Linked DNA regions of Homo sapiens: region 1 is linked to region 2. Evidence: promoter capture Hi-C in human tissues and cell types (Jung and others, 2019). All regions are on one chromosome and are shown on one strand. The core of a region is centred on a gene start or on the middle of the fragment in contact, and the rest is flanking DNA. Distances in the headings are between cores, read along the strand shown. Region 1 overlaps LHFPL6 (LHFPL tetraspan subfamily member 6). Region 2 holds the start of STOML3 (stomatin like 3).

The links. Contacts are between HindIII fragments. The study calls those that stand out against the background at their distance.
Region 1: a contact is called between a fragment that was not itself captured here and the fragment with the promoter of STOML3 in region 2, in 1 of the 25 tissues and cell types used here (dorsolateral prefrontal cortex).

What each region holds. Positions count from the first base shown.
Region 1 is chr13:39,551,729-39,556,589 of GRCh38, forward strand. All of the region lies in intron 2 of LHFPL6 (LHFPL tetraspan subfamily member 6), which reads right to left. Among named protein-coding and RNA genes, the nearest start is that of LHFPL6, 49 kb to the right of the region's middle. The HindIII fragment of the contact is 3,177 bases long and covers 1,633-4,809 here.
Region 2 is chr13:38,988,228-38,992,702 of GRCh38, forward strand. It overlaps STOML3 (stomatin like 3), which reads right to left and starts at 2,604. Exons shown (of 7, transcript NM_145286.3): 1 at 2,443-2,604. The coding sequence starts at 2,494. The HindIII fragment of the contact is 2,975 bases long and covers 1,848-4,475 here.

The sequences.
Region 1 (4,861 bases), core at 1,971-4,470, 560 kb after region 2:
TATCTCTCTCCACTTATTCAGATACTTAATTTTTTTCTAAGGAAAAAATTAGTTTTTATTTCTGGCATCTTCTTTTTCACCCCTGCCTATCCCTCACTCAATTCTTCAAAGTCAAGTTTCGACATCTGAAAGAATGTGCTTAAAACAGGGACAAAAGTAATATTTTTATATTTTTAGGTTTTCAGTTACTAACATATTAATAGCCCTCTGTATCTAAAAGTTTCGACTGAATAATGACTCAGAATATCTTGGCTAACTTCCTTAATTATGAGTGAATTAGCTATATACTGCTGGCCTATTCTTTTTTATTAAACAATGGTAATTATTTCAAACATCAGAAAATAATCATGAGAACATAAAATCTAACAAATCAGCACCCTCTGTGCCAGATAGCATTCCCTTCATGGATCAGAAATTGTATGTGATTATCTCATTCACAAGGTTCAAAATAAATTGCATACATGGATAATCTAACCCCAGTATCAACAGGTCAGTTTAAACACATACCCTTGAAGCCTGTAACAGAGGCAGGGGTCAGCATTAATATAAGGAGAATCTATTAACTGAGAAGAACACACACAACCATATTCAAAGACTATGATTGTGACAGCAATTGGTAAACTGACTATTTTTCAAAAAGTCTCTTTGTTCTTAATGGCACATAAACCATTGTTGGACAGTGACAGTGACACACTGTCACTGTCATGAACAGCAGGAGTGAGTACTGGTGCATGCAAGGGATCAAAGGCTGTGATGAAAGGGTCCGTAATTAATAATAATTGCTTCCCAAGTGTCTATTTTACATAAAGATTCCACTTCATAAGGGACACATTCAAGACCACTGGATAGGCGTAATATTTTCACTGTGGGTGGTCCTTTCTTGGAATGATATTCAAAGGCTCTGCATGGGACTAGCAAAACATCATTAATAAGAATGATAGAGAAGAACTGTAGGGACCAAGCACACCTTGCCAAGGGCAACATCTTGCAATGCACCAGCAACAGTGAAAAAACAGCCCATGAAGCTTCTGAAGTGAAGGTCTCCACCCAAAGACAATGAAGGCACAGTTACATATTTAGCCAGTTTTTTTAATTTAATGGGTGCCTTTTTGGAGGTGGTGACCAAGAATGAGGATGATGCTTTGGGATACCTTACTTGCAGGATTTGTTGTATACTTATTCTGGAGGTGGTGACCAAGAATGAGGATGATGCTTTGGGATACCTTACTTGCAGGATTTGTTGTACACTTATTCTGGAGGTAATTCTGAATAAAAGAGAAAAAAACTTTATTAATGCTTTTAAATGAAGTTAAACTTAAAAATGTAAAGCATCAGGAACCCTGCAAAGAGCAACCAGAATAATATCCCACAAAATGAGAAAATTGAAATATGTCAATACATTTAAGCTAATATTAGAAAATCATTCATTTTAGTCTTCATGGGAAAGCACAGAAATACAATTAATGGAATACAATTTAGAAATTATTTTGATAATCATCTAATAATTATGAATCACTGTGGTAGACTAATTACAGCAAAAACCCCATTCTTCAACCTTTCCTATACCCAACTCCCTGGAATGTAAATTTGCAGCTTCACCCCATGAATTTGGACAGGCTTTGAAACTTCCTTTGGCCAGAGAAAATGCAGTGGAAGTGACACTATGTCAGTCTTGAGACTGGATTTCAAAACTTCAGGCACGGCCAGGCATGCAGGCTCACACCTCTTATCACAATACTTGGGGAGGCGAAGATATGAGGATCCCTTGAGCTCAGGAGTTCAAGACCAGCCTGAGCAACATAGTGAGACTTCATCTCTACAAAAAAAAATATTTTTTTTAATTAGCCAGCATGGTGGTCTGTGCCTGTAGTCCCAGCTACTCAGGAAGCTGAGGTGGCACTTGAGCCCAGCAGTGTGAGGCTGCAGTGAACTATGATTGCGCCACTGCGCTACAGCCTGGGTGACAGAGCAAGACCTTGTCTCAAAAAATAATAAAATAAATAAAAAAGGCCAGGTGCACGTTGGAATCCTGACCCACTGTCATGAAAACAAACTTTACCTAGCCTGCTGGATGAACAGAAACAGATAGTGGAACATCATTCCAGCTGAGGCCATCCTAAACCAGCCAGCCACCTGCCAATTTCCCTGCCGATGGCAGACAATCAGTGAAAAAAAGGTCAGACTAACCTAAGCCAGCCCAGACCTGATGAACCACCCCACCAACCCATCAGCTCACAAGCTTAATTAATATATGGTTGTCGTTTTAAGCTATGAAATTTTGAGGTGGCTTGTTATACCTTATGAAAGGCTCATCTACCTTTCAAAGTTGCTCCTTGGATTTCATTCTATAACTTTCTTTTTAACTCTCCTTGTGTTTTCTCAGCTACCAATAACACCATTACTTGTCCTATGACTCTGGATTAAGCAATCTACTTTGACTTCTCCCTCTCCTGTACTTCCTATAATCAATCACTTAATCTGGCAGCTTCTATACAGATGTAGATCTCAAAGTTATCTACCAGTCTCCATTTTTTCTGCCATACCACAAGTAAAAGTCTTCATCATTTGTCTTCTAAAAGGTCTCCTTTCCTCATTCTTTTGCCTCTTTAATATACTCTTTAATCGCTAAAGAGGAATAATTTTCTTACTAAATCAAAATCATTGTTTTATTAAAATGCATGTCAGGACATATCATCCCATAAATGCAAGTCAGACACTTTAACAACCCCCAGTTTCCTACAGAATGTTCTGAACAGTTGAGCATGGAATTCAAGATGTTTCATTATCTGATCCCAATTTTTCCTTCTAGTTGTTTCGCCTGCATCCCTGCATACTTCTACAGTCACATCACACCAGAATCAATGCCCAAACAGACCAGACTTTTTCACATCTCCGTGTTTTCAAATGTTGTTGTCTTCCCCCTCCTCCCCACCCACTGAACTTTCAACAAGCTGATTCAACTACTGACAACTTTCTGACTGTCTTCTCCAATAGGCGTGTGTCCCCCCAGCCATTCACATCCCCATCTACTGCCCTTGGGTAGATCTGTCCTTTTCCCTGAACACCTTGAATATGCCTCCATTGTTATAGTAAAGTTTTCATTAAAGTTTAACCTCTACTTAGTCAAGTACTAAAGGTTGTAAATTTTTGACAGCATGGCATATGAACCTTTGCATCCCTCATACAACAGTACAATGCTTGATAGGCTAAATGCAATGTGTTGTGGATCTGGGGTCTTAGAAGTGGGAGGAACTCTTCAGAAAAAATTTTCTTTTCTAGCCAGAAGTCAAGTCCAGATGTGGTGCAAATAAATACTCTTGCTCCATTATCAAAAATAAAAGATTACGAACAAGGCCAAGTAAGCTTTTGGCTCCTTCAAAATTCTAACAATATTACAATACAGCATCAGCTACTTCACTCCTACTCGGAAACTGACAAATATGACTATGTTAAATTCAATTAGAATCAGGACCCAGAGGTGCTCCAATCCCTTTGTATTCTCATCCTTGTCTGTCTGACATATTGGGCAGAATCAAATAAGTGAAAGGTGGCTTCTGAATACAGTAAAACTTTGAAAAACAGAGCTCTCCCCGCCCTTTTTTTTTTTTTTTTGCATTCTGCTGTGAAATTAAGAAAGAAAATAAGGTGCTACCAGAACTCATGCGATAGCGCTTTCTTTTAGGCACATATTATAGCATTCAGATGAAAGTTCTGTAATCACACACACACTGTGCCTCTAACAACAAACACGGTGACTCTGAGCAAAGTCTCTCAATTTCTCTGGGTCACTATTTCCTCATCTGTAAAATGAATGGCTGAGGCTAACTTAGCACTAAACTTTAGTGAGCTTATTAAGCATCAGTTTATTGAAACTGGTGTTCACAATAATAAACATAAGTGAAGGCAAGATATTTAGTAACAAAAATTTAAGTATTAAATTATACATAGCATATAACACGTTTATAAAGATAGCAAAAGAAGCCAACATAATTTTGAAAGATTTTTAACAAAACTGATAAATATTTTCATGGCCTTCAACAAGAAATTTCAATTAATAAGGACATTCCATCCATACATGATATGGTTTGGATATCTGTCCCCTCCAAATCTCATGTTGAAGATGTTGCAGGTGGGACCTAGTGGGAAGTACTGGATCATGGGGGCAGGTCTCTCATGAATGGCTTAGTACCATCCCCTTGGTGGTAAGTGAGTTCTCACTCAATTAGTTCACATGAGATCTGGTTGTTTAAAAGAGTCTGGGACCTCCCCCTTCACTCTCTCACTCCCACTCTTGCCATGTGACACACCTGCTCCCCCTTTGCCTTCCACCAAGATTAGGAGCTTCCTGAAGCCCACACCAGAAGCTGAGCAGATGTCAGCGCCATGTTTCCTGTACAGCCAGCAGAACCGTGAGTCAATAAAACGTCTTTATTAATGATCCAGCTGCAGGTATTTCTTTATAGCCATACAAGAACAGACTAACACAGAAAATTGGCACTAAGGAGTGGGGTGCTGAAAATGTGAAAGCAGCTTTGGAACTTGGTAATGGCCAGAGGTTGGAGGAGTTTGGAGGTCAAAGAAGAAGACAGGAAGATGAGGGAAAGTTTGGAACTTCTTAGAGACTGGTTAAATGGTTGTGACCAAAACGCTGATAGAAATATGGAAAGTGAAGTCCAGACTGAGATCTCAGATGGAAATAAGGAAGTTATTGGGAACTAGAGTAATGGTCACCCCTGTTACACCCTGGCGAAGAACTTGGCTGTACTGTGTTTATGCCCTAGGGATGTGTGGAAGTTTGCACTTCAGAGTGATGACCTAGGGTATCTGGCAGAAGAAATTTCTAAGCAGTAAGACATTCAAG
Region 2 (4,475 bases), core at 1,354-3,853:
CATATATTTTATATATAATATATTATATTTTATATCATATATTATATATAAAATATATTATATTTTATATCATATATTTTATATATAATATATTATATTTTATATATAATATATTATATTTTATATCATATATTTTATATAATATATTATATTTTATATCATATATTTTATATAAAATATATGATATTTTATATCATATATTTTATATAAAATATATTATATTTTATATCATATATTTTATATATAATATATTTTATATCATATATTTTATATATAATATATTTTATATCATATATTTTATATATAATATATTTTATATCATATATTTTATATATAATATATTTTATATCATATATTTTATATATAATATATTATATATCATATATTTTATATATAATATATTATATTTTATATCATATATTTTATATATATTATATATTGAAATTTTATATATTTGATATCAAACACATCATTAAAAAGGTGAAAAAATAAGTGACAACTGGAAAAACATATTTGCCACTTATGTGCTGTCAGGTATATCAAGTATTCATAAGTACATATTACAAGTTATATATTATAGTATATAGTATATATAATTATATATACTATAATACATAATATATATTATATATGCTGTATTATATAATATATATTATTACATATTATATACTATACTATAGAATACATAATATATATACTATATTATACAATATATTATATATACTATATTACACAATATATTATATATACTATATTACATAATATATATCATACATTATATACTATATTATATAAGATATATGTTATATATGTTATATTGTATTATATATATTTTTTATATATATCTGAGTTGCAAGGGCAAACTTAGTCCACAGATCTCAGAGAATGGTCCACACTGTATCTCTCCTAAAAAACTACAAAAGCACAGGAAATCAGACATTGCAAATATATCAGCCCCATTTTGTTCATTCTGTGATAGTGCCAGTTTTTCATATTCAAATATCGAAACCAAGAAAACTCATGAGTACTTTCAAGAATCTCACTGATGATACAGCTTCAGTCATGCCATCTACCCAGTTGATGTCTTCACCTGTTAAAATGGAAACTAAATGTCTCATGAAGGATAAATAAGGGGACTCTTGAGATCTCCCGCTTGCATTTCCAGATGATATTTACTGCCTTCAAGCTTTTCATGCCTACTTCAAAAGAAAAGTTTCTTTTCCAATTCAGGTAAATGTCTCTAAATGTATACTTTTTCTTTTTTCTTTCTTTATTCCATTTTTTTTTCTTTGTTAGGCAGGGTCTCACTCTGTCACCCAGGCTGGAGTACAGTGGTGCAATCTCAGCTCACTGAAGCCTAAACCTCCTGGGCTCAAGCAATCCTCCCACCTCAACCTCCCACTTAGCCACAGGCATGTGCCACCACACCTGGCTAAATTTTGTATTTTTTGTAGAGATGAGTTTTTGCCATTTTGCCCAGGCTGGTCTCGAACTCCTGAGCTCAAGTGATCTGCCTGCCTTGGCCTTCCAAAGTGCTGCGATTACAGGGCATGCACCAGTGCATGCAGCCTAGTTTTTTCTTTTATGTATTAGTAATGCCAAACGTGTTCTCTATTTCTAACATGTACTATGGCTTTTTTGGCAACATAAGGTACAGAGCACAGGTTAGGTCATACACACACGCACACTCACACCATCATCACACACACACACACGCACACCATCATCATAATCACTTTCTGAACAACTTTTTAAACTTTCCAATGCTCAGTTTTCTCATTTGTAAAATGAGATTCTAAGAGGATCTACCTCAGAATTATTGTAAAATTGAAAGAGATAATGCAAGCAAAATGCTTTGTAACACATAATAGTCATTAGTATTAATGATAGTAGTTGGTACTTATAAGCTAAGTTTTTTTTCTCAACTTCTCTCCATTTATCAAACAGGATACAGCTCAAACCAACTTTTCTTTTTAATCTCAGCATCATCAGAAAATGTTTGAAGTTGGAGAAAAGTCAGCCTCTTCAACATATCTTTGTTATTTAATACAAAAAGAAGAAATACAAAGATAAACACCAATTCTATCTAAAATTGAATGAAAAATAAAGCAAGTTATAGACTGCTGTTCAAGAAGCAAATGAAATCAGCATAAGCAATGAATTCAAAATCCTGAGAAGGATTTCATACAGAAAGAAGAAATTCAAAGATAAACACCAACTTTATCTAAAATTGAAGGAAAAATAAAGCAAGTTATAGACTGCCGTTCAAGAAGCAAATGAAATCAGCATAAGCAATGAATTCAAAATCCTGGGCTATAAATGAAATTGAGGCCGATTTCTGCAAATATATCTCATACTTACTCTATACCTGTCTATAATGCTACAACTCCTGCTTTGCCATATATGTAAAAAACAAGCCTAAGACAGGAAAAAGGAACTTACCCACGAAATTCTCTTTATCTTGCTTCTCAGGTGAAGACACCCTAGAATCCATCTCATTCTTGAGAAGCTTTTATACTTGGCAATTTTTCATGGGTTTGGAGCTAAGTGTGAAGAACAGGCAGCAACTCAGATGTGCTTGGGAGAGGGGAGAGGAGAAAGTATGAGAGAGTGAAAGACATTCCTTCTCTTTAGTGAACTCCCTAAGGGGTAGTTACCCTGGTGAGGGAAGCCTGATAACATAAACAAAAAGATTTCTTTTATGAGTTCAGACTGCCTTTGTTCACAGAAAAAACTTGAAAGAATATGACCATCTGGTGGTATTGCTTCCTGTAAAATATTGCTGTGTAATTTTCTATAGCATTTATATTTCATAAAACACTTCTATGCACCTTGTATAAATCTTGTGTGATCACTGATTACACAATGACCTGTTCAATACACAGGGCAAGTGTATCCATCCTTATGTTTCAGATGAGAAAATTTAACCCAACTCATTCTAACACTGCAGTGAGTGAGCTTTTGAAACTCAAATCTGATCATGTCTTCATCCTGCTTAAAATAATCAAAAAATTGCCAACTGTCAATATTGTAAAGACCAAACTCCTAAGTGTCCTACAAGACCCTGCTGGCCTGCCCCTTCCTCCCTTTCCAGCCTCACTCATGTGTCTCTCCGTGAAGCAGCTCCATTGGTCTCCTATCAGTGCCTCCAAAGCTTGATATGTCTTCTCGCCACCGGATCTTTGCACGTGTTATCATATGCATAATTTTTTGGCTTGTGTCTGTTTCTTCTTCTAGACCAAGAATTGACAAACTTTAGCTTGCCAGCTAAATTTAATTTACCACTTGTTTTTAAAACATAAAGTGTTATTGGAACACAGTATGTCCTTTTGTTGCTTTCTTTTTTTTTTTTTTTTTTTTGAGATAGGATTTCACTCTGTTGCCCAGGCTGGAGTGCAGTGGCACAATCACAGCTCACTGCAATCTCGACCTGCCAGGCTCAAGCAATCTTCCTACCTCAGCCTCTTCAACAGCTGGGACTCCAGGTGCACACCACCATACCTGGCTAATTTTTAATTTTTTTTTTTTTTAGAGATGGGGCCTCACTATATTGCCCAGGCTGGTCTCAAACTCTGGGCTCAAATGATCCTTCAGCCTTGGTCTCCCAAACTGCTGGGATTGTAGATATGAGCCACCATGCCCAGCTCTTTCATTTTTGTATTGTCTGTGCTCACTTTTGCACTGCACCCGTGGATTTGAGTAGTTGTGACACAGACCATACAAGCTGTAAGGCCTAAAATATTTACTGTTTGTCCCTTCACAAAAAAAGTTTGCTGACCCCTGCCTTGCACTATACATTTCCATGAGGAGAGTGACTTGGTCTAACATTTCCATTGCATCTGCAACAATTAGAACAACGTGGGCACATGATTGATGTTCAACAATACTTGCTGAATGAATGAATATATAAATCACAAATGAAAACAGCTCTCAAATGGCAAAGCTCTTTCTCAAATCCAGATCCTTAGGATCCTGTACTAGGATTCCTTCTTTCATCAGACCACATAGAACCACAGACAATTTTGTGGTTATTCCAATACTAAGAACACCAATTTTCTAATTTTCTGATGTTCATTTCTCTCATATCAATATCCCAAATATATCTTGTTTTTCTTTTGTATACCATTATATTTATTGTATGGCATTTATTATATTATATTGTATTATTTTGTGAAAACAGTAGAAAAAATCTCTAATCTCTCCCTGGCCTTCTTGTCTTTTCTGGTTTTTCTTCTGCCAACCACCTAGTTATTTCCTTCTTTGCAACTTCATCTTAAAACTTTTCTCAGATTCCAGCCTGGGCAACATGGTAAAACCCCATCTCTACTAAAAATACAAAAATTAACCAGGCATGGTGGCATGCACCTATAGTCCTAGCTACACTGGAGGTTGAAGTGGGAAGATTGATTGAGCTTGGGAAGCAGAGGTTACAGTGAGTCAAGATGGCTCCACTGCACTCCAGCCTGGGTGACACA